4 separate regions of the Homo sapiens genome follow, and all the other regions are linked to region 1. Evidence: promoter capture Hi-C in 16 types of primary human blood cells and fetal thymus (Javierre and others, 2016). All regions are on one chromosome and are shown on one strand. The core of a region is centred on a gene start or on the middle of the fragment in contact, and the rest is flanking DNA. Distances in the headings are between cores, read along the strand shown.

The links. The method cuts DNA at HindIII sites, captures the fragments that hold promoters and counts their contacts. A CHiCAGO score of 5 or more calls a contact.
Region 2: a contact is called between a fragment that was not itself captured here and the fragment with the promoter of COX8C in region 1, in 1 of 17 cell types (monocytes). The highest score is 5.3, in monocytes.
Region 3: a contact is called between a fragment that was not itself captured here and the fragment with the promoter of COX8C in region 1, in 3 of 17 cell types (monocytes, M2 macrophages and M1 macrophages). The highest score is 5.9, in monocytes.
Region 4: a contact is called between a fragment that was not itself captured here and the fragment with the promoter of COX8C in region 1, in 1 of 17 cell types (M1 macrophages). The highest score is 6.0, in M1 macrophages.

The regions. Positions count from the first base shown.
Region 1 is chr14:93,344,254-93,349,424 of GRCh38, reverse strand. It overlaps COX8C (cytochrome c oxidase subunit 8C), which reads right to left and starts at 2,243. Exons shown (of 2, transcript NM_182971.3): 1 at 2,031-2,243; 2 at 1,069-1,397. The coding sequence starts at 2,156. The coding sequence ends at 1,305. It also overlaps a transcript of UNC79 not described here. RefSeq lists an enhancer at 5,152-5,171. The HindIII fragment of the contact is 4,764 bases long and covers 470-5,171 here.
Region 2 is chr14:93,551,944-93,557,114 of GRCh38, reverse strand. All of the region lies in intron 14 of UNC79 (unc-79 subunit of NALCN channel complex), which reads right to left. Among named protein-coding and RNA genes, the nearest start is that of UNC79, 120 kb to the right of the region's middle. The HindIII fragment of the contact is 730 bases long and covers 2,487-3,216 here.
Region 3 is chr14:93,513,840-93,519,010 of GRCh38, reverse strand. The region is part of intron 7 of UNC79 (unc-79 subunit of NALCN channel complex); the gene reads right to left. Among named protein-coding and RNA genes, the nearest start is that of UNC79, 85 kb to the right of the region's middle. The HindIII fragment of the contact is 5,128 bases long and covers 1-4,834 here.
Region 4 is chr14:93,488,199-93,493,369 of GRCh38, reverse strand. All of the region lies in intron 5 of UNC79 (unc-79 subunit of NALCN channel complex), which reads right to left. Among named protein-coding and RNA genes, the nearest start is that of UNC79, 60 kb to the right of the region's middle. RefSeq lists an enhancer at 3,046-3,545. The HindIII fragment of the contact is 1,433 bases long and covers 1,210-2,642 here.

The DNA.
Region 1 (5,171 bases), core at 994-3,493:
GGACTTATTACATGCTAGGGGATAAATTACCTGCTGTAACTGCCCCAGGTGTGCCTGCCTACCAGACGGCCAGTCTTGCAAGTCTGCCATTAAAAGTCTCGCTTCTGCTGTTCTTCATGTCTCCAAGGGTTTGGCCAGGTGAATATGTGTTTCTCACAATTGGTATATCTGCTGTTAATCACTTATTGTGTCCGGAATTGGTGGGTTCTTGGTCCCGCTGACTTCAAGAATGAAGCTGCAGACCTTCACGGTGAGTGTTACAGTTGTTAAAGATGGTGTGTGTCCGGAGTTTGTTCCTTCAGATGTTCAAATGTGTCCGGAGTTTCTTCCTTCTGGTGGGTTCGTGGTGTCGCTGGCTTCAGGAGTGAAGCTGCAGACCTTGCCATGAGTGTTACAGCTCTTAAAGGCGGCACGGACCCAAATAGTGAGCAGCAGCAAGATTTATTGCGAAGAGCGAAAGAACAAAGCTTCCACAGTGCGGAAGGGGACCCCAGCGGGTTGCCCAACTTCTATTTATTGACTATTGTTTCAGGTACTATGTTGAGAGGTACTTTATCTTTCTTTGTTCAATGTTTTATTTCCACAACATCACTTCAAGACAGCAATTTTAAGTCCCCATTACAGAGATAAGGAAACCAAGACTCAGAGTTGAACTATGTTGCCCATGATAACAGCATCATCAACAGCTAAGACAGTTCAAAGATGTGTATGATTCTTCAAACCTCACAGAAGACTAAGAGAAGATAATAAAATCATTAAAATAGGAGATGTACTCATTCTTCACATTCTGACGTGTAGTCATTTAAAGAGGCAAAGAAATGGTTGTACTTCTCACAGCAAATTGTGAAGTGTGGCATGGCAGTACTAATAGAACATAAAAACCATTTAGCTAAACTTATATTACCTCACAGCTACACATCTAATCTTTTAAGGGTGATGTCACTAGATACATTCACTCCCATATAGTAACAATGTCACTCCCTGAGTCACTAAGTCAGACCTTTCACAGCAGTTCTCGGTAAATTTTCATCAGCTTTCACGATGTTTAGAAAATAATCTGCACACATATTACCAAGCACGAATAAGTGTTTCCGTTTTATTTAACACTTAAGCAGAACATTTTTGACTATACATCTATATAATGCACAGTACTAAAAAAGTGCAAAATATTCATCATAAACATGAGGAAAGTGAATACCACAATGGTTGCATCAACTCAACTAGGCAATTTTGCTCGTTAACAAAAACACAGCTTTTTCTGAAAGTTTTTTGGACGTTAACAGCTGTTCAACATCATCTTCCATCTAATTCCTTCTGAACTGCTTCAGGTTGCCTAGCACATATGCAGCTGGTGTTAAGAAGGTCGTAAAAAACACCACAAGTCCAACAGCCATTTCCTGGAAGAGAAGATGACACGCGCTGCTGAGTATGGCTTCCTAGGCCAGTGACTTGCTGCCTAACAAAAAGTGCTTAAAAAAAACATTTTGAGCACCTAGACCGTTGTCCTAGAAACAGGCGCCTAGTGAAATCTAAAATGCTGAAAATCGATTCATGGATCACCTGATTTTTTTTTTTAATTCATTTTTCATCTAAGGGGTCTCCGGTTCCAACCTTCGCACTCTGGAACTTCGATGTGGCCCAGGATTTCCACCATTTTATCGAAAACGCTAGATCTTCGCAGTGCCGAGGACGTCCGAGGATGGTAAATCATTCCTCCGCGAAACCACAGCCCCGCCCCCGAGCCAGGTGCCGGTAAAGGGTAACAACGAAGGAGGCCCAATCCCCGCGCGTTCCTCAGGGTCCCGGGCTTTCCGCCCCTGTGCCCGACGACGGCATCCTCACCGCGACCCTCTCCCAGGAACCTCCCCCAAAGGCGACCAAGCCACAGGAACCTCCCCCAACGGCGACCAAGCCACAAGAGCCTCCCACGCGAGGCCTGCACGCCGTGTCCTCCCTTCTCCCCACCCGTCGGGGCGCCCCGCCAGGGCCACGCGCTTCCCGCCCACCATGATGGCTGGGCCTCAACTCACCGCGGCAGACAGGGGCCGCTGGCGCGGGGGCCCCGAGTGGGCGAAGCGGGGAGCGGGCTGCAGGCCGAGCAGGGCCAAGCGGCGGTAGTGGCGGCGGGCAGGACAGCGCCCACGCAGGAGAGGCATATCGCGTCAGGTGAGACAAAGCCAGGCGTGGACAGCACAGGTGAGGTGAGGCCAAGTAACGCAAGCTCCAGTGCTCGTGAGGCAGCTGGTTTGCGCAGGCGCCCCAGCCACGAGGGGGCGCTCTGCCCTCGCCCCCTACCCCACCCCTTCTGCCCAGCACCTCCTGCTCTGCCCCGCCTCTTCCGCTCACCACTCCTTTCTCTGTACTGCCCTTTCCACTCAGCAGTCCGTGCTTTGCCCCACCCCCTCTGCTTAGCACCACTTGCTCTGCACCACCCCTTCCACCCAGCACACCCCTGCTCTGCTCCACTCTCTTCAGTTCAGTACCCCCTGCTCTGCCCCGCCTTTTCCACTCAGGGCTCCCTGCAACCTCCCAGCCCTCATTCACCTCACTTTCCACCCACGTGTCCTATCCTCTCCTAAACTCTCCTGCCACCCTCCCCTGAGCCCCAACCCCACCTCACACTAAGTATCTCTTTTCTGCAGGGTAAGGTGAGGGACTTGGCACCCCTACTCCTTTCCTTTGTCTTCCTCTCTACCTATACTTTATATACCTCTTAACATGCCCTGGCATTGGCAGAGTTTATAGCACACTGTTTCTAATGCAAATTAAATCTTCCATAAAATGTCTATAGGTTAATTCTTAACACTGAAAACCAAGAACAAGTTTCTATAGTCGGCTGATGATATAAAAAATATTCATGGCAGGGTCAAATAGAGTGTTTGGACCCAGTAGAAACAGTGATGTAATTATCTGTCACTACGGCTAATTTTCTTATTTTTTTGTAGAGACAGGTCTCACTGTGTCACCCAGGCTGATCTCAAACTCCTGGGCTCAAGCCATCCTCTTGTCTCAGCCTCCCAAAGTACTGGGATTACAGGCATGAGGCACTGTGCCCAGACCCTCTTGAGGGAAAAGTAAATATACTGTGATTTTTAAATTTAGTACTGTAATAAAACTTTATCCACTACAATGATCCTGTGTCTTCACATTATTTCTTTTGGGGGCCTATTGCACGAGTAACACTCTAGGGTTTCTCTGGATTCCTCTGTTCCTGCAGCCTGGTATCTTCCTCTTTCTTAGATTTCTTTTCGTTTTGCTGTAGTACATCCTTAAGCTGTTCTTTCAGGAAGGGTTTGTAGGTGATAAAGTTCCTCAGTCCTTGGAAATCAAAATATATATATATTGGTCTCCATTTAAATGCTAATTTGAATGGTTATAGAACTCTGGGCTCAAAATCATTGTCCTTCAGAGATTTTCAAAAGGCATTGTTCCTTTCTTTTCCAGCATCTAGTGAGCCGATAAATATAATGCCAATATAGTTGTCATTCCTTTGAGTACCCTCTTTTTTCCTTTTGGGAATCTTTTAGGCATTCCTTTTTGTCTTTGGAATTGTGACGTTCCTCCAGGATACTGTTAGATATGGGTATTTTTCCATTCATATGGATTAGCAGTGGGTAAGACCTTTCTATCTGAAGTCATGGTTCTTTAGCCATAGGAGCACTATTCCTATTTATTTGCTTCTCTGTTTTCTTTGTTCTCAACCTAAAATTCTTATTGACGGACACTGGCCCTTCTTAGCGGGTCACCTCTGTCTTTCAACCTTTTTCTCACTCATCAACGTTTTGTCCCTTGTTCTACATTTTGCAGGATTTCCTTGACTTTTTCTTCTAGCCCATGATTTTTTATTTTAGAATTATAGTTTTAAAACATACTATTTTTTGCTTTTACAGTCACCTGTTAGTATTTTATAGATATTATCACTTTAGATTTCTTTCAGAATATTAATCTGAACTTTTAAAAAGTTATCTCTATTCCATGAACTGTGTTTCTTTAGCGTACATTCTATTTATTTATTTTGAACTTGCCAGTTTTATTCAAGTATCTTATGATCCTTGGTTGTCATTTCATGCTTATGAATATGAAGAAGCAGGTCAGTTACTTTTGTTCCTTTCTGTTACTGTCTCAGTCTGTTCAGGCTGTTACAATACAACAGACTGGATGGCTTATAAATGACGGAAATGTATTTCTTACAGTTCTGGATGCTAGAAATTCAAAATCAATGTGCTGGTAGATTTGATGTCCAGTGAGGGCCCACTTCCTTGTTCTGGTTGTGTCCTCGTATGATGGAAGCAACAAGGTAGCTCTCTAGGGCCTCTTTTATAAGGGTACTAATCCTATTCATGAGGGCTGTGGTATGATCTAATTACTTCCCAAAGGCCCCGCCTCCTAACTCTGGGGCATGTTTCACCATGTTGCCCAGGCTGGTCTTGAACTCCTGGCCTCAAGCAATCCACCTGCCTCGGCCTCCCAAAATGTTAGGATTACAGGAGTTAACCATCATGCCCAGCCCATGTTACATTTCCACTGGGCAACTGTGCTCTGGAATCTTACCCTAACCAATCAAGGACCTGCATGAACCATGGCTGGCCACCTCCCTAACCTCATCTCCTTGTTCTCAGTCTTCCCTTGGCTCATCCTGCCCAGTCACATCAGGTAAACTCTAATTTTGCCTTAGATATCCCCAGATAATAATTTGAGCACCTGTGATTTACACGAGTCCTGTAAGAAATGATTTAGTGCAACATTGCTCTGTTTCCTGGCCACAGTTGTTACACTACTTGACTCAAATATTGGACCAAAGAGAGGGCTGGGACCCAGTCTGTTGGTTGGGATGGATGTTGTAACTTGGGAGCCATGTTTTTTTTTCCCTGCCTAGCAAGAAAGCCCTTCCACAGTGAGTTAATAATGTAGCCAAGCTGCTCAAAGAACCAGAGATAAGAACCAGAGGGAATATCCTGCCTGTGTTCAAAGCCCTGGTTTGAATTCTCCCTATTCTGAAGTTAGGACACTTTCCTCTCCTTGAGTTCTGGGCCTCTCTTTATATACTTTATGATAAATCCTGCTTTGGGCTTAAACTAGGTGGTGCTGCATTTCTATTGCTAACAACAAAAGAGCTTTAAGAAAGACGATATTAGTCAAGACTTTTTTCTTTGGGTAATACCCCATTTTTA
Region 2 (5,171 bases), core at 1,602-4,101, 210 kb before region 1:
TATATAGAGATGACCCCTATACAAGAAAAACTTAAGGATGTCCTTCTCTGTAATGGAGTAGCTTTCAATAAACTCTCTCTTCTCACTGCACTCTGCCACTCACCTTGAATTCCCTCCTGCATGAGATCCAAGAACCCTCTCTTGGGGTCTGTATCAAGACCCCTTTTACTGGTAACAGTTGCACTTGGGAAAATCCCTTTGGGAGAATAAAAGGCTTAAATGCCAGAGGCATTGGCTGTTTGTCCCTAACAGCCAGGCAATGGTCTGGAAATTAAAGATTTAAAAGAGTTTTTTTTAAAGAGCTCTATGGTAAATGATATTAATTAAAAGGGGATAGCCAAGCTATACATACATTTAAAAGGCCATTAGGCTTTTTTCTCTTCTTGGATCTTGTTTTTTTGAAAAAAAGGTTTTTGGGTTTTTTTTTTTTCTCAGTCAATTGAATTGTTTCTCCATTTACTCTGTCCTCTGGCACACACGCCCTCACTGCCCTGCATGAGAGGACTTAAGGTAATTTCTGACAGCCTGGAACTCCTTGAGAGAAACAGAAGAGGCACCACAGACTCCTGTTTTGGGAGAAACCTCTGTTTTCCAAGTAGAACCCAAAGAATTACACGCAGACTGATACTTCCCAAAATCTGAGGCTCTGTTCTGTTTTGCATTATGTTACCTGATCTTTTTGACTTTTGGGGGCATCAGAAATTATTTTGCATTACTTAGAAATGTTGAATCTTAATGTGCAATAGCTAAATAAGAGGCATATTTTTTTAAATGTCCAATAGCAGTTGCTTACAGTGAGTGGCTATTACCACAGGGTGATACTCCTTTTTTTTTGTGTTTACATACATAAAAAGCCATGCTCTTGGGCAACTAGAAGGTATGAAATGGGGGATGGGCTGATTACAGAGCAGACTAGTTGATGTTGGGTTGTCCAGCAGCCTTGGGGAAATGTCCTTACAATAAAACATGCTGTGAAAGCATTGCACTGTCTTGTCTCATAGCACTTGCCTCTTTGCGGGGACCCAGTATTTGGTGTGGAAATGGGATCCTTGATTTTGGGAGATCTGTTCTGCCTTCCAGCTGTGCCCACCTACTAGGCCCTAAAAACTGCATGCTTTCCTGGCCTTGTTCTTTAAAAGGCTCCACCCTGAACCCAATTTAAAAACTTACATCTTTAAAGAAATCTCCACATGTAAGGGTATCTGTTTTCCCTGGCTGTCTCACCTAAACTTTTACTCACACCATTTCTCCCTTGGTTTAAGTAAAATATAAATTATCTATCTTATTTCACCTAAGAATTGTCCCTTTTAAAATGCAAAATCAGAGTTACCTCACTGATAATTATTTAGGGCAGAGAACAGATAATCAAAAGATTGATGCTTTATCTAAAATAAAATGAGAAAGAAATCTTGGCCAGGTGTGGTGGTTCACACCTGTAATCCCAGCACTTTGGGGGCCTGAGGCAGGTGGGTCACTTTAAGCCAGGAATTTGAGACCAGTCTGGTCAACATGGTGAAACCCCATTTCTACTAAAAATACAAAAATTAGCCGGGCATGGTGGCGTGCACCTGTAGTCCCAGCTACTTGGGAGGCTGAGGCAGGATAATCACCTGAACCCAGGAAGCAGAGGTTGCAGTGAGCCAAGATCACACCACTGCTCTCCAGCCTGGGTGACAGAGAGAGACTCCATCTCAAAAATTAATTTAAAAAAAAGGAAGAAAATCTTAAAAACTGGCAAATGAAGAATCTTATAACTCTACCAGATCTGCTTCTCTGTCTGTGTATTTATATGTGTCATGTATGTATGTGATGTCTTACTACCAAGATATGTAAAAGACATCCAATGAATTGGCTTAAAGAAAAATAAATGCTTAAATAAAATATTTTATCAGAAAAATAAACACTTTAGTTCACATGGCTTTAGTAATCTTTGGTAAATAAAGACAGTTTTAAAGACTATTAATGAAATAAAATTAAATGTCTTTAAAATTTAGGCATTCAGTCTAAATTAGGCAGGTCAGGAACTGCCCTTGCTAGATGCTTTAAGATTATAAACTGCTTCTATGACTTTTGATAACTGTTTGACTTGCCTGCTTTGGGGCCATTAGATTCTAGGTAAGGCCTGGGGATATATAGAATTAGACACACTCCCTAGCTATACTGGAAAAGAGTCACATATTACCTGTAGTTCCCAGGCTCTGCACTTGGTACAGAATTAAAGTTGCATACACTAAAAATTAAAATTAGGTGTTTTTAAGAAAAAGGCATGGGAATGTAGTTTTTAAAAGACAAACTATTTTGCCTAATTTAGAGGTTGTTTAAGGATTGTTTTGGGTTAAAAGAAAGATAGAATATAACTGAAAGTTTAAGCCAGTTAGAGATGGTTTGTGAAAGATTAATCTTGAAACAGAAATTCTGTGTATGAGCTAGTTGGCTAAAAGGGTATTATTTAGTTTTTCCATAAATTAAATATTAAAATAAAAGCTTGCTAACACAGGGCCAGAATCTGGGCTCATGTGTCAGAATAATAGGGTTTTCCTGGAGCATTTATCTGCTCTTAAACAAAAAATTTGCAAAGGGTTATAAAAATCTTACCTTATGGTCAAACTGGTTAAAATTAGATAGCTTCATCAAATGTTATTGAAATTAGCTTTAGTATTAATATACTAATGCAAAGGTAAAATTTCATTTTCCCTTTTGAGCAAGATTTTCATTCGCCTACAGGAAAAAGAGAGAGACAGAATTTTTTTTTTTTTTTTTTTGAGACAGAGTCTTGCTTCAGCCAGTCACCCAGGCTGGAGTACAATGGCATGGTCTCAACTCACTGCAACCTCCGCCTCCTGGGTTCAAGTGACTCTCCTGCCTCAGCCTCCCGAGTAGCTGGGACTGCAGGCATGTGCCACCACACACAGCTAATTTTTGTATTTTTAGTGGAGATGGGGTTACACTGTGTTGGCCAGGCTGGTCTCAAATTCCTGACCTCGTGATCTGCCCACTCGGCCTCCCAAAGTGCTGGGATTACAGGCATAACCCACCATGCCCAGCCATGCTGTCTTTACTGGGTCTGGTTATTTAGAAAGCTGAGTCCTCTCTCTGTGAAAGACTAAAGGATTTTTGCTGTTTAGAAATCTTTGAGTTAATCATGTTGGTTAAATAAATAAACTGTGGTCCTATTTTGTGATGTCAAGTGTTTTAAATTTTGATATTTGACAAGCTTTCCAAAATAAAATCCTGAATTAAGCCTTTTTTGACCTAATTAACCATTTTGTGTAGTAGGTCCTCTGAGGTCCAAAAGAGACATATGCAGCTTATTTGGTGTATCAAAACCATACAGGAAACACTATCACATTTAAAATGGTGTTTAGCTTTTTTTAGATTATAGTCACATAAATGTGTGATTAATATGTATTCCATAGTTATATGAGATTCCTATGATTCTGATATGCCTAAGTATCTGCTATCAATAACAATTAAGATTGTTACATTAAATTGTGTGCCACAGAAATGACCAGATTTCCCTGTTGATTGCATCTTTAACTGTGGCTGTCCTAAGACTCTTGTCATCCACAGACAATTGTCTTGTTTTAATCTATTCCAAAAGAAGATTTATAATCAGCTAAAGGACTCTCATGGATACTCTTGGATGCAGGTCTCTGACAACCTGGAGACTGAGCCATTAGAATAGAGGGAAAAACTTGTAAGACCCTCTTGGAGATCTAATGTGTCCATAAATATCAAGCAGAACAGGAGTTAATTTCATGGACTAAACAAATAGGAGATTGAAATAATCTGTTTATGACCTTTTCTTCCAGAAATGCTGCTGACCCTTTTTGTTTTGTTTTTCAGAGTCAAGAAAACTTTTTTCCCTTTTAAACCATTTACAACTTTTAACAATTGAGTAAACTACAACCTATAAGCAAAATTTTGAGCATGTTTCTTTCTCTCTACCTGATTTCTGCAGAATTTGGAAACTATATGTGAGTATTCTTAACTTATGGCAATATAGTTGTTTGCATACATGCAATAAGAATCTGTTTTCTTTTGTAACAGGACACAACTGGGGAAACTGGTTATTTTATCAAGGCTTTATGAGAATGACATGCTTTCATACTGCTTTTCTAAAAATTGAGGTTGACTTCTAAAGCCGATAAAACCCCATTGGAAAAACTGCCCTCATATCCTGTCTATGCAGTCCTTGTACAGGGTTCCTGACCTATGGTAAGTAAAGACTGTCACTTTCTAACAGGTCCAGGAGCCCCAAGTTATCTTTGGACTTCAAGAGGGGAGGAATTCACCCAATTCATACAAGTGTTTGCAGGCACAGATGAATCCATAGCTAGGCTCACAGCTTTAAAAAGTCTAATCTGAGAATCCTTACAAAACAAAGTTCCAGCAAAGCCAATTAAAAAAAAAAGTTTATATGGCAAATAATTATTCTTGCTGCACTTCACGCAAATAATCAAAACAAGTATAATGAAACTAAAGTTTAATTTGCAAACACATCAATCCTACAATAATTTGTCTTTGATAAAAATGAGAGACTGGAGAGAAAAAGAGTATAATATACCTGTTGTAGGTTCTAGTCTTATCTGTTGTTTTTGAGCTTTTTAATATTATTTTCTGAGCTGCAAGTCTCCAAACTAACATTTTAAAAATTTTCTTCCACTTTTCTGACTTAATGAAATTGCTACTACCTTTTTCCTAAGGCCCTGCAAACTAAGGCTTATTCTTTATAATACAAGCAAAAAAACATGAAAAATTGCCACCACCCTCCTCCATAACTAAAGATGCTTTGAGCCTAATAACTGGGTAGATTATGCCCACCATTAACAGTTGTTTTTCTTTTGTTTCCATAGAAATGTCTCTTATTAAAAGTATGTTTGCCTTATATTTCACACACCAGGAGACTCATTCTCCAGCCTATTCACTTAAATTCCAAATGGCAGCTGATTTCTTCTCATAGCATTATTAAACTGGACTTAGGCATTTTATTAATTATCACTGGGTGCTATTTGATTTTTAAAATAATTATTTGTTATATTCAACAGGCGTACAGATGGTTAAAGTTTATGCCTTCCAGGCTTCAACAGTTCTAAGTCAAGCTAATGATGGCCCAAGGATTCCAACCCATACCATCCCAGAAGGATTCTAGTCCCTACAGGTCTCTAGAA
Region 3 (5,171 bases), core at 1,021-3,520, 170 kb before region 1:
TCAACCACTGTGGAATACACATTGTTTTAAAGTACACGTGCAACATTTAACAAGATAGGTATTCCAGTCCATAAAATAAGTCTCAAAAATTTAGATGGAGCTACATCATACAGCATATTCTCTAGCCACAATAGAATTAAACTAGAAACCAATAACACAAAAGTATCTGAAAAATTACCAAATATTTACACATTAAAAAGCACACTTCTAAACAATTCATGAATGAAAGAAGAAACTTTAGAAAATATCCTGCACTGAAATACAATAAAAGCATAACATATATAATGAATTTCTGGGAAGCAACTAAAGCAATGATTAAATGGAAATTTATAGCTAAAAATTATTATATGAGAAAATATTAAAGATCTGAAATAAAAAGTTTATGCATCTCCCTTAAGAAGACAGAAAAAGAACAGAACTCAGTAGGTGGAAGAAAACAATAAAGAAACAGAAATCAATGAAATTGAAATCAGAAAATCCATAGATAAAATCAATAAAATCAAAAACTGGTTCTTTGAAAAGTCCCAAAAACTTGATAGGCCCCAGCATCCTGATGGACAAAAAAAAAATTGAAAATTCATGAATTACCAATATCAGGAATGAAAGGTAGAACATCACTACAGATCCTACAGACATGCTAATAAATTTGAAAACTTGGATGAGATGCTCACATTCCTTAAAAGACACAAATAACTCACTATAACTCAATAAAAGTAAAAAAAACCCATAACTATTAAAATTACATTCACAACATAAAACATTTCCCTCAAAGAAACCCCAAGTCCATATGGCTTCACCAGTAAATTCTATTAATCATTGAAAGAATAAATAATACAAATCTTACATAAACTCTTTCAGAAATTAGAAGAGAAAAAAACATTTTCCAACTCATTTTATGAGGTCAGTATTACTCTGTAAATGGAACCAGATGAAGACATCATAATTAAATAAAACAAAACAATATCTCTCATAAATGTAGGAACCTGAACACTTAACTTAGAAAATTAAATCTAGCAATATAATACAGCATGACAAGATGAGTTCATCCCAAGAATGCAAGATTGCATTTCACACACACACACACACACACAGACACACACACACACACACTCACATATACATATGGACCAAATGGAAATTCTAGAAGTGAAAAATATAACAGGGGGGCAGAATTTGGGGAATGTTGGTCAAAGGCTGCAAAACTTTAGAAAGAAAAGATATATAATAACCAAAATTAAAAACATAATTAGGAGGCTAAAGAATTTGAGAACAGGAAGACATGTCAGAAAAAGATTCAGTATGAAGCACAGAAAGATGAAATGGTGGGGGATGGGGAATACAAAAAATAGGCATAAAAGGCATAACGTTGCCAAGAAAATCAATGTAATTTACCATATTAACAGAATGAAGGGAAGAAATCATATAATCATCTCAATAGAAAGAGAAAATGCATTTGACCAAAACTGACATTCATGATTAAAGCTCTCAGCAAACTAAGAACAGACAGTAATTTCCTCAATCTGGTAAAAAAAAAAAAATCTATGAAAAACCTACAGTTAACATAATAATTTAATGGTGAAAGCCCAAATACTCTCCCCAAAGATTGGGAGAAAGAACAAGGACGTCCACTCTCAGTACTTCTATTCAAGTGGAGATATTAAGCAGTGCAAAAAAAAAAAAAAAAAGAGAAGGATAGAAAGAAAAAAAGGGAGAAAGGAAAGAAGGGTAAGAGAGAGAGAAAAGGAAAAGAGGAGAAAAAGAAAGAGAAAGGAAGGAAGGAAAGAAGGAAGGGAGGGATGGAGAAAGGGAGAGAGGGGTGGAGAGAGGGGAGGAAGGAAGGAAGGAAGGAAAAAAGAAAGGCATACAAATTAGAAAGAAAAGAAAAAAAATTATTTGCAGAGAGCATAATCAGGTATACAGAAAATCTCAAGAAACTTACAAAAAAGCCACAAAAACTAAGAAGTGAATTTAGCAAGGTTGCAGGGTATTTGTAGAGTACCAATAAACAAGTAGAAGATTAAAATTTTTAAACACTATTTATAATAGCATATAAAATCATAAAATATTTAGGAGCACCTTTAACAAAATATAATATCTGTACACTAAAAACCAGCAAATATTGCTGAAAGAAATTAAAGAAGACCTAAATAAATGGATAAATATACCATGTTCATGGATGAAAAGACTCAATATTGTTAAGATGTCAATTCTCCCCAAATTAAACTATATAGTCAATGTAATCTCATTCAAAAATCCAAGCAGAGGTCAGATGCAATGGCTCACACCTGTAATCCCAGCACTTTGGGAGGCTGAGGCAGGCAGATCACCCTGAGGTCAGGAGTTTGAGACCAGCCTGGCTAATATGGTGAAACCTCATCTCTACTAAAAATACAAAAATTAACCAGGCATAGTCACACATGCCTGTAATCCCAGCCTCTCAGGAGGCTGAGGCAGGAGAATCACTTGAACCGGAGAGGCAGAGGTTGCAGTGAGCTGAGATCATGCCACTGCACTCCAGCCTGGGCAACAGAGTAAGACTCCATCCCCCACCCCCCCCCCCAAAAAAAATATCCAAGCAGATTGTTTTGTAGAAATTACAAACTGATAGTAAAATTTATATGAAAATGCAAAGGTACTAAAATAGCCCAAAAAATTCTTTAAAAGAACAAATCTGGAGTACTTACACTACATAATTTTATGTATTAAAATAGCCCATAAAATTTTTAAAAGAGCAAATCTAGAGGATTTATACTACATGATTCTAAAATACACCGTAAAGCTACAGTAATCAAGATTATGTGATATTGGTATAAGGATAGACAATGAAACAAAATAGAGAGTTTAGAAATAGACACATACATATATGGTTAATTATTATTCAACAAAAGGGTCAAGGTAATTCAATACGGAAAAGATACTCTTTTCAACAAATTGAACTGAAACAACTGGATATCCTTAAAGGAAAAACAAATCCAACCCTTACCTCTTGCTATATACTAAAATTGATTCCAAATAGATCATATACTTAGATGTAAAATCTTAAACTATGTAACTTCTAGAAGCATAGAATTTCTTTACAACCTTAGGAGAGACCAAAAAAAGGACCACAAAAGAAAAAAAAAAGATAAATTTCAATTAATTTATCAAAATTAAAATCTCCTTCTCTTTGAAATACTTCAACAGGGAAGCCCCTGAATGAGAGAGCATATTCACATTATGTTGACAAAAGTCTTATATTTTGAACATACAATATAATAAGATAATAAAATAAACACCCCAATTTAAAAATGAGCAAAAAGTTCATTGGTAACTTCACATATACACACAAAGGGTAAGCAAACCTGAGAAGGTAAGAATATAGAGGGAAAGATAAATATATGAAATTAGTGGTTACAGTAGCCACAGAGCACAAACAATGAAAATCTGACCTAAGAATTATACCCTTTCACCAGAAGCAAAATTAAGTTCTCTCTGAAGGAATCCATCATACTAAGTCTCAAATTAGGTTTATAGTTTTTATATCTATTGTCTTGAACACAATAAAAAACAACCACACAAACAAGAAGACAAGAAAACAAAACAAAAGAAACAACAGACAAGAGAATCAGAATCTCCAGGGATCCAGAACACTGAGTCATCAGAAACAGATTTTAAAATAATTATGCTTAATATGTTCTATAAAGTAGAAGATAAGAGAATATCATCAAAGAACTGGAAATACACACACACACACACACACACACACATATACATATGGACCAAATGGAAATTCTAGAAGTGAAAAATATAATGGGGGGTAGAATTTGGGGAATGTTGGTCAAAGGCTACAAAACTTTAGAAAGAAAAGATATATAATAATCAAAATTTAAAACATAATTAGGAGGATCAAGAATTTGAGAACAGGAAGACATGTCAGAAACAGATTCAGTGTGAAGCACAGAAAGATGAAATGGTGGGGGACGGGGAATACAAAAAATATGCATAAAAGGATGTACGAGAGAAAGGTCTAACATAAATGCCATTAGAATTCCAGAAAGAGGGATGAGAATGTGTCAGAAGCCACTTTTGAAGAGATAAGGAAACTTCCAGTTACAACCATAATAAAAAGCTGGTATTGAACTTATCTTTCCACTGGACAAACTGGTTTCAGACATTGGGCATAGATACAGCACAGGGCTGCTCTCTTTTTTAAAAAGTAAAGCATACAAGTTAAGTTCTACATTCACCTTGGCTTTCTGCCTGGTGATATTTCCAAAATGCAGCATAGAAAAATGGAACTCAGTAAGAAATCAGCGTTTTTGGTGGGTAGAAGAAACAGATTTTCAGTGGGTAGAGAAATCAAAATAAAGAAATGCTAAGGCGGATGGAATTTGTGAGTAAAGGTAGAGAACAGAGGAGAGCTACCAAGAAGAGGTATCACAGATCAGTGGAAGGGCATCCCTCAGGTCTTTGGCCCGCATGTGCTCAGAGCAAACTTCTGCAAGGACTAGCAGAGAACTCTGCTCAATGGTTGAAAGCAGAACAGAGATTTTGGAGGTCACAAAGGGCTAGATATATGTTGTATTTCCAATGTAGCCAAAGCAAAGAGCTTTAGTGAACACATCAGAAATTCAGGAGACAATAGTTTGTAACAGATAGGTCACACCTTAGGAATAAAGACCGTGCTCTAGACCTAAGTTTATAAATTTGTAGACATAGGGTTGTTCATAGTAATCCTTCACTATCCTTTTAATGTCCATGAGATCAGGAAATAATAATATCTATTTCCTTTCTGATATTAGAAATGTGTGTCTAATGTCTTTTCCTTTTTCCCTGGTTAGACTGGCTAGAAGCTTATTGATTTTTTAAAAAACAGTTTTTAATTTTGTTGATTTTTCTCTATGTTTTCCTGTTTTAAATCTTACTGACTTGTTCTCTAATTTTTGTTATTTATTTTCTTATGCTTACTTCAGGCTTAAATTGCTCTTCTTTCTCTAGTTTCCTAAAGTAGAAGACTATAGCATTGATTTTACATGTTCCTTCTTTCTACTGTATGTCTTCAGTGCTGTAAATATCCCTCTAAACACTGCTTTTACTACATAACACAAATATTGAAGATAATGCTATAGGAGTCATAGTTATACACTAGGACTAAAGGCAAAACTGAAATATACTTGGCTTAACAAGTTATA
Region 4 (5,171 bases), core at 677-3,176, 140 kb before region 1:
ACGCAGGCCTCCCTAACATAGCTCACAACACCCTGCATGTTCCAGCCCATGGAACTCTTAAGTCTAGTGTCACACCAGGGAGCCCTCACTCTGAGTTCCAGCTACACTGATCCTTCAGTCTCAGCTGTTTGCCAGACTCCCCCGTGACACATGAGATTCCTCTTCCTGAACCGCCCCCCCTTGTAGGCCTTGTTCACATTATTCATCCTGCAGTTCTCAAACCAAAGGTTACTTCCTCAAAGAAGCCCTCCTGACTTCCTCAATAAAAGCAAAATTTCCTTTTATAACATCTTATAGTATAACATACTTGAAGCACTTGTCACAAGCAAAATTTTACACTTGATTTTATGATTATTTGATTGTCTTCTCGCCTCTCAACCCGACCATACGATAAGCTTCCTGAGATGAGGATGGGGTCAGTCCCATGTCACTAACCATGGAGCCCCCAGTGCCCAGTACATGGTGGATACTCAGTGACTACTGATTGAATGGTTGCTCTAGAATTGGAAATTTGGTCTTAAGCCATCACTGAATTCTCAAGTGCAGATGTTCCAAGACACTTTCTTGTACATAGTGTCTGCTGATCTCCACAGGTCTGCTATATGAACGTTGTTCAGAGCCATCACTGACCCATGAACATACCTGGACAGTTCCTTTGTTAAAACAGCTTCCCCTCCCAGAATGCCCCATTTACCTTATCAATAAAAACTCTGTCCAGCCAGGCATGGTGGCTCATGCCTGTAATCCCAGCACTTTGGGAGGCCAAGACAGGCGGATCACTTGAGGTCAGGAGTTCGAGGCCAGTCTGGCAAACATGATGAAATCCCATCTCTACTAAAAATACAAAAATTAGCCGGGCATGGTGGCATGTGCCTGTAGTCCCACATACTGGGGAGGCTGAGGCAGGAGAATTGCTTGAACCCAGGAGGCAGAGGTTGCAGTGAGCCGTGCCACTGCACTCCAGCCTGGGCAACAAAGTGAGATTCCATCTCGAAAAATAAAACAAAACAAAACTCTCTCCATAATTTAAAACTCATCCTTGGCCCAAGTGACGCAAAATCTTTTCTGATCATTTCAATCCATACAGCTCCCTCCTTCTGATAAATTAACACTGTCTAATATATTTATTTAGTACTCCTATGTACTACATTACATTGTTAACTAATGATTTATGTAAATATGCCTGATCTTCCCAATTAGACATAAGCTTCATAGCAAGTACCATATCTTATGTTTTTGTGTGGTTTTCACAATGCCTAGCACAAAGCCCTGTATATAGAAGGTGCTCAATGAATGCTGGTTACTTAAGTAAGGATTGTGTTCTATCCTTGATACACAATCAGCTACAAGGATCAAGTTGCCAGTTGTGCTTCTTCCAATAAAAATTCAAACAACAGAACCATGACCTACCACTTGGTCCCAGAGAGCCCCTGGTGGATATTGCCTCGCTTAAGTGCTTCCTATATCACAAGACTAGTTTTGGGTCCCAACTATGATTCCTAGTATACAGTAGCTGGTTATAAACATTTCCTCATGAACAAATGAAGATACAGATTTTAAAATAACAGATGCAACTCTACCTGACCACAGTAGTTTTCCAGTGAAACATTCAACTCAACATTCAACTCCAAGAAGAAAATGGCAAATTGTAGGGATTCAGTATTTATTGAGAATTTACAATTTGTCAGTCACTAAAGTAAGCACTTTACATATATGTAACCCATTAAATCTTCACAGCAGCATTTTAAAGTACTGCAAGAAGAATTATTTCCATTTTATAGATGAGGACACTTGGTTTCAGGGGGTAAAAAACTTGCTCAAGTTCACTAACTGGCAATTTGCAGGTAAGCTCAGATGTGAATCCACATACGACTAATCTCAAAGCACCCTGCTTTACTACCCAACTAGCTTAGAAATTTGGACCAGACTGGCATGATGAGACTCTAATTAACTAGATTCCAAATAAATGGTTTTATTAAGGACATAATATATAATAAATATAGTATTTTGATTATTTTAAGCCAGACAGATATATAAGATATAATTTCCCCATATATATATTTTAATTATATCTATATAATAATCATAAGAGATTTCATACTTAAAGAATGCTACAGACTGAATGTTTGTGTCACCTCAAAATTCTTCTGTTAAATCCAAACCCCCTAATGTGATGGTATTAGGATGTGGAGCCTTTAGGAGGTGATTAGTGCCCTTATAAAAGAGGCCCCAGAGAAATCCCTTGCCCTTTTGTCACTTGAGGACACAGCAGAACGACAGCCATTCATGAACCAGGAAATGAGTTCTCACAGATCATCCAATCTACCAGCACCTTGATTTTGGACTTCCCAGCCCCTGGAACTATAAGAAACAAATGTGCATTGCTTATAAGTCATCCAGTTTATAGAATTTTTGTTATAGCAACCCAAATGGACTAAAACAGAAAATTGGTACTGAGAAGTGGGGTGATGCTGTAACAAACAGCTAAAAATGTGGAAGTGGCTTTGGAACTGGGTAACAGGTAGGGGCTGGAAGAGTTTTGATCTGCAGGCTAGAAAAAAGCCTATATTGCCATGAATAGACCTTTAAAAGCAATTCTGGCAAGTGCTGAAAAAGAGAAGAGGAAAGCAGTAGAAAAAGCTTCAATCTTCTTTGAGAATACCTAAATGATCCTGAAGAGAATGTTAGTATAAATACGGACAGCAAAAGCAATTCTGATGCGATCTCAGACAGAAATGAGGAACACATTCCTGGAAAGTGGAGGAAAGGCCATCCTTGCTATAAAGTGACAAAGAACTTGGCTGAATTGTGTTCATGTCCTAGTGTTTTGTGGATGGTAGAACTTGTGAGTGATAAAATTGGATACTTGGCTAAGAAAATTTCTTAGCAAAGTGTTGAAAGAGAGGCCCAGCTGGATTTCTTCTGACTGCTTATACTGTAATAAAATGTGGGGAGAGAGAATGATCCAAAGACAGAATTGTTAATCAAGGAGGAAGAAGACTTAAAGATTTGGAAAACCCTCAGCCTATCTGTATTGACAGGATGAAGAAGCCTGTTAGGAAGAGAATGGGGAGAGTGTAGCCAAGTGACCATTTAATAAGATTAGTCAGCCATCTCAACAGAAGCCAGGAGGTATTGTCCAAAACAATGGAAGAATGACCCCAGAGGCACTTCGGAAATCCTCTGCACTGCCCCTCCCATCACAGACCCAGAGTGCAAGGACCCTGGGGGAGAAATGGTTTCAGAGGAGAGGCCACCAGCACTTTTGAGACTTCAGGGCATGCCACCCCCTCACAAGGCACCTTCTTACATTGTAAAATTCAGTCCTATACCCCAGTGCCTCATTGTTCAGCTGCCCTTTGGGCAGAGCAGCATGCACTGTACCCAGCAAAGGCATGGGGGTGTATTCACCTCCACCTAGATTTCAAAGGATGCCCAGGAGAGCTGGAACTCCACCCTGAGAGAGTCATGGGCACCGGACCCCAGCCTGCAGAGTGGGGCCCAGGAAGGGAACCACTGTGGGGGCCAGGATCACTGTAGAGAGCCCCCACCAGGGCAATGCCCAGCAAGCCATGGAGATAGAGCCACGCAAAGCCACAGGGGCAGGGTCTTGGGGGCCCAACCCCTACATGGCAAAGCTGCTATGCAGGGCCACCACCTCAGTGGGTCCAAAAGACAGAACTCTTACCCCAATGGGTTTGGAAGGTGGGACCTCCACCCCAGTGGGCCTGGAAGGTGGAGCATCAAGTCAAAAAAGGTAATTTTCAAACCTTAAGGTATAATGTAGTTGGGTTTTAGACTTACTTGGAACCTGTTACACCTTTTTTCTTTCCCATTTCTCCCTTTTGGATGGGAATGTCTATGCTATGCCTGTCCAACCATTGTATATTGGAGGCATATAACTTGTTTGATTTCATAGGCTCACAGCTGGAGAGGAAATTGCCTCACCCATATCTGATTTAGATGGTATTCACATGAGACTTTGGACTTTTGAGTTCATGCTGAAATGAGTTACGATTTTTGGGGCTATTGGGATGGAATGAATGTTTTGCATATGAGAATAACATGAATTTCAGAAAATAGGGTGGAATACTATAGACTAAATGCTTGTGTCCTCTCAAAATTTGTATGTTGCCAGACATGGTGGCTTATGCATGTAATCCCAGTACTTTGGGAGTCCAAGGCAGGAGGATCACTGAGGTCTGGAGTTTGAGGCCAGTCTGGGAAACATAATGAGACTGTCTCTAAAAAAATTTAAAAATTAGCCAGATGTGGTAACACATGCCTGTAGTCCCAGCTACTCAAGAGGCTGAGGAAGGAGAATCGCTTGAGCCAGGTAGGTCAAGGCTGCAGTGAGCCATAATTGCACCACTGCACTTTAGCCTGAGTGACAGAGTAAGACTCTGTATCTTAAAAAAATTTTTAAATTAGTATGTTAAACCCTAACCCTCAAAGTGATGGTATTCAGAGTTGGGGCCTTTAGGAAGTAATTAGGTCATTAGGGCAGAGCCCTTATGTATGAGATTACTGCCTTTATAAAGGAGGACCCTGAGAATTCCCTTTCCTTCCCACCATTTAAGGACACAACACCAAGATGGCCATCCATGAACTAGAAAGCAGGCCCTCACCAGACATCAACTCTGCTGGCACCTTGATCATGGACTTCCCAGCCTCCAGAAATGAGAAAAATAAATGTTTACTGCTTATCAGCCACTCCGTTTATATTTCTGTTACAACCCAACGGACTAAGACAGAAGATGACACTCCAAACTAAGAAGCATTCAGATTTTGAAATAAAAAATTTTTCCTCATTCTGAGTCAGAAGTTCAATTACTATTTATTAAGTAATTAAGTAGATAGCAAAAAAAAACCACAGTGTCACTGGATTTGTTTACTTTCCAAATAAACACTAAATGAAAATAAAAATGAGTTTACATGTTAGCACATGTTTTGGTCAGTTTTCCAAAGTTATCTGCAATTATACTGACAAATGGAAATCAAACAGAGTAAATGTGAAAATCTGTCCAACATCACTAGTAATGGAAGAACTACAAATCTAAACAAAGAGATATTAATATTCATCTGTCTAACTCTACACAAATTTTATAATAATAATGACAAATCACAATGAGACAAGTACTTTCACATACTATTGGAAATATTGAAAATTT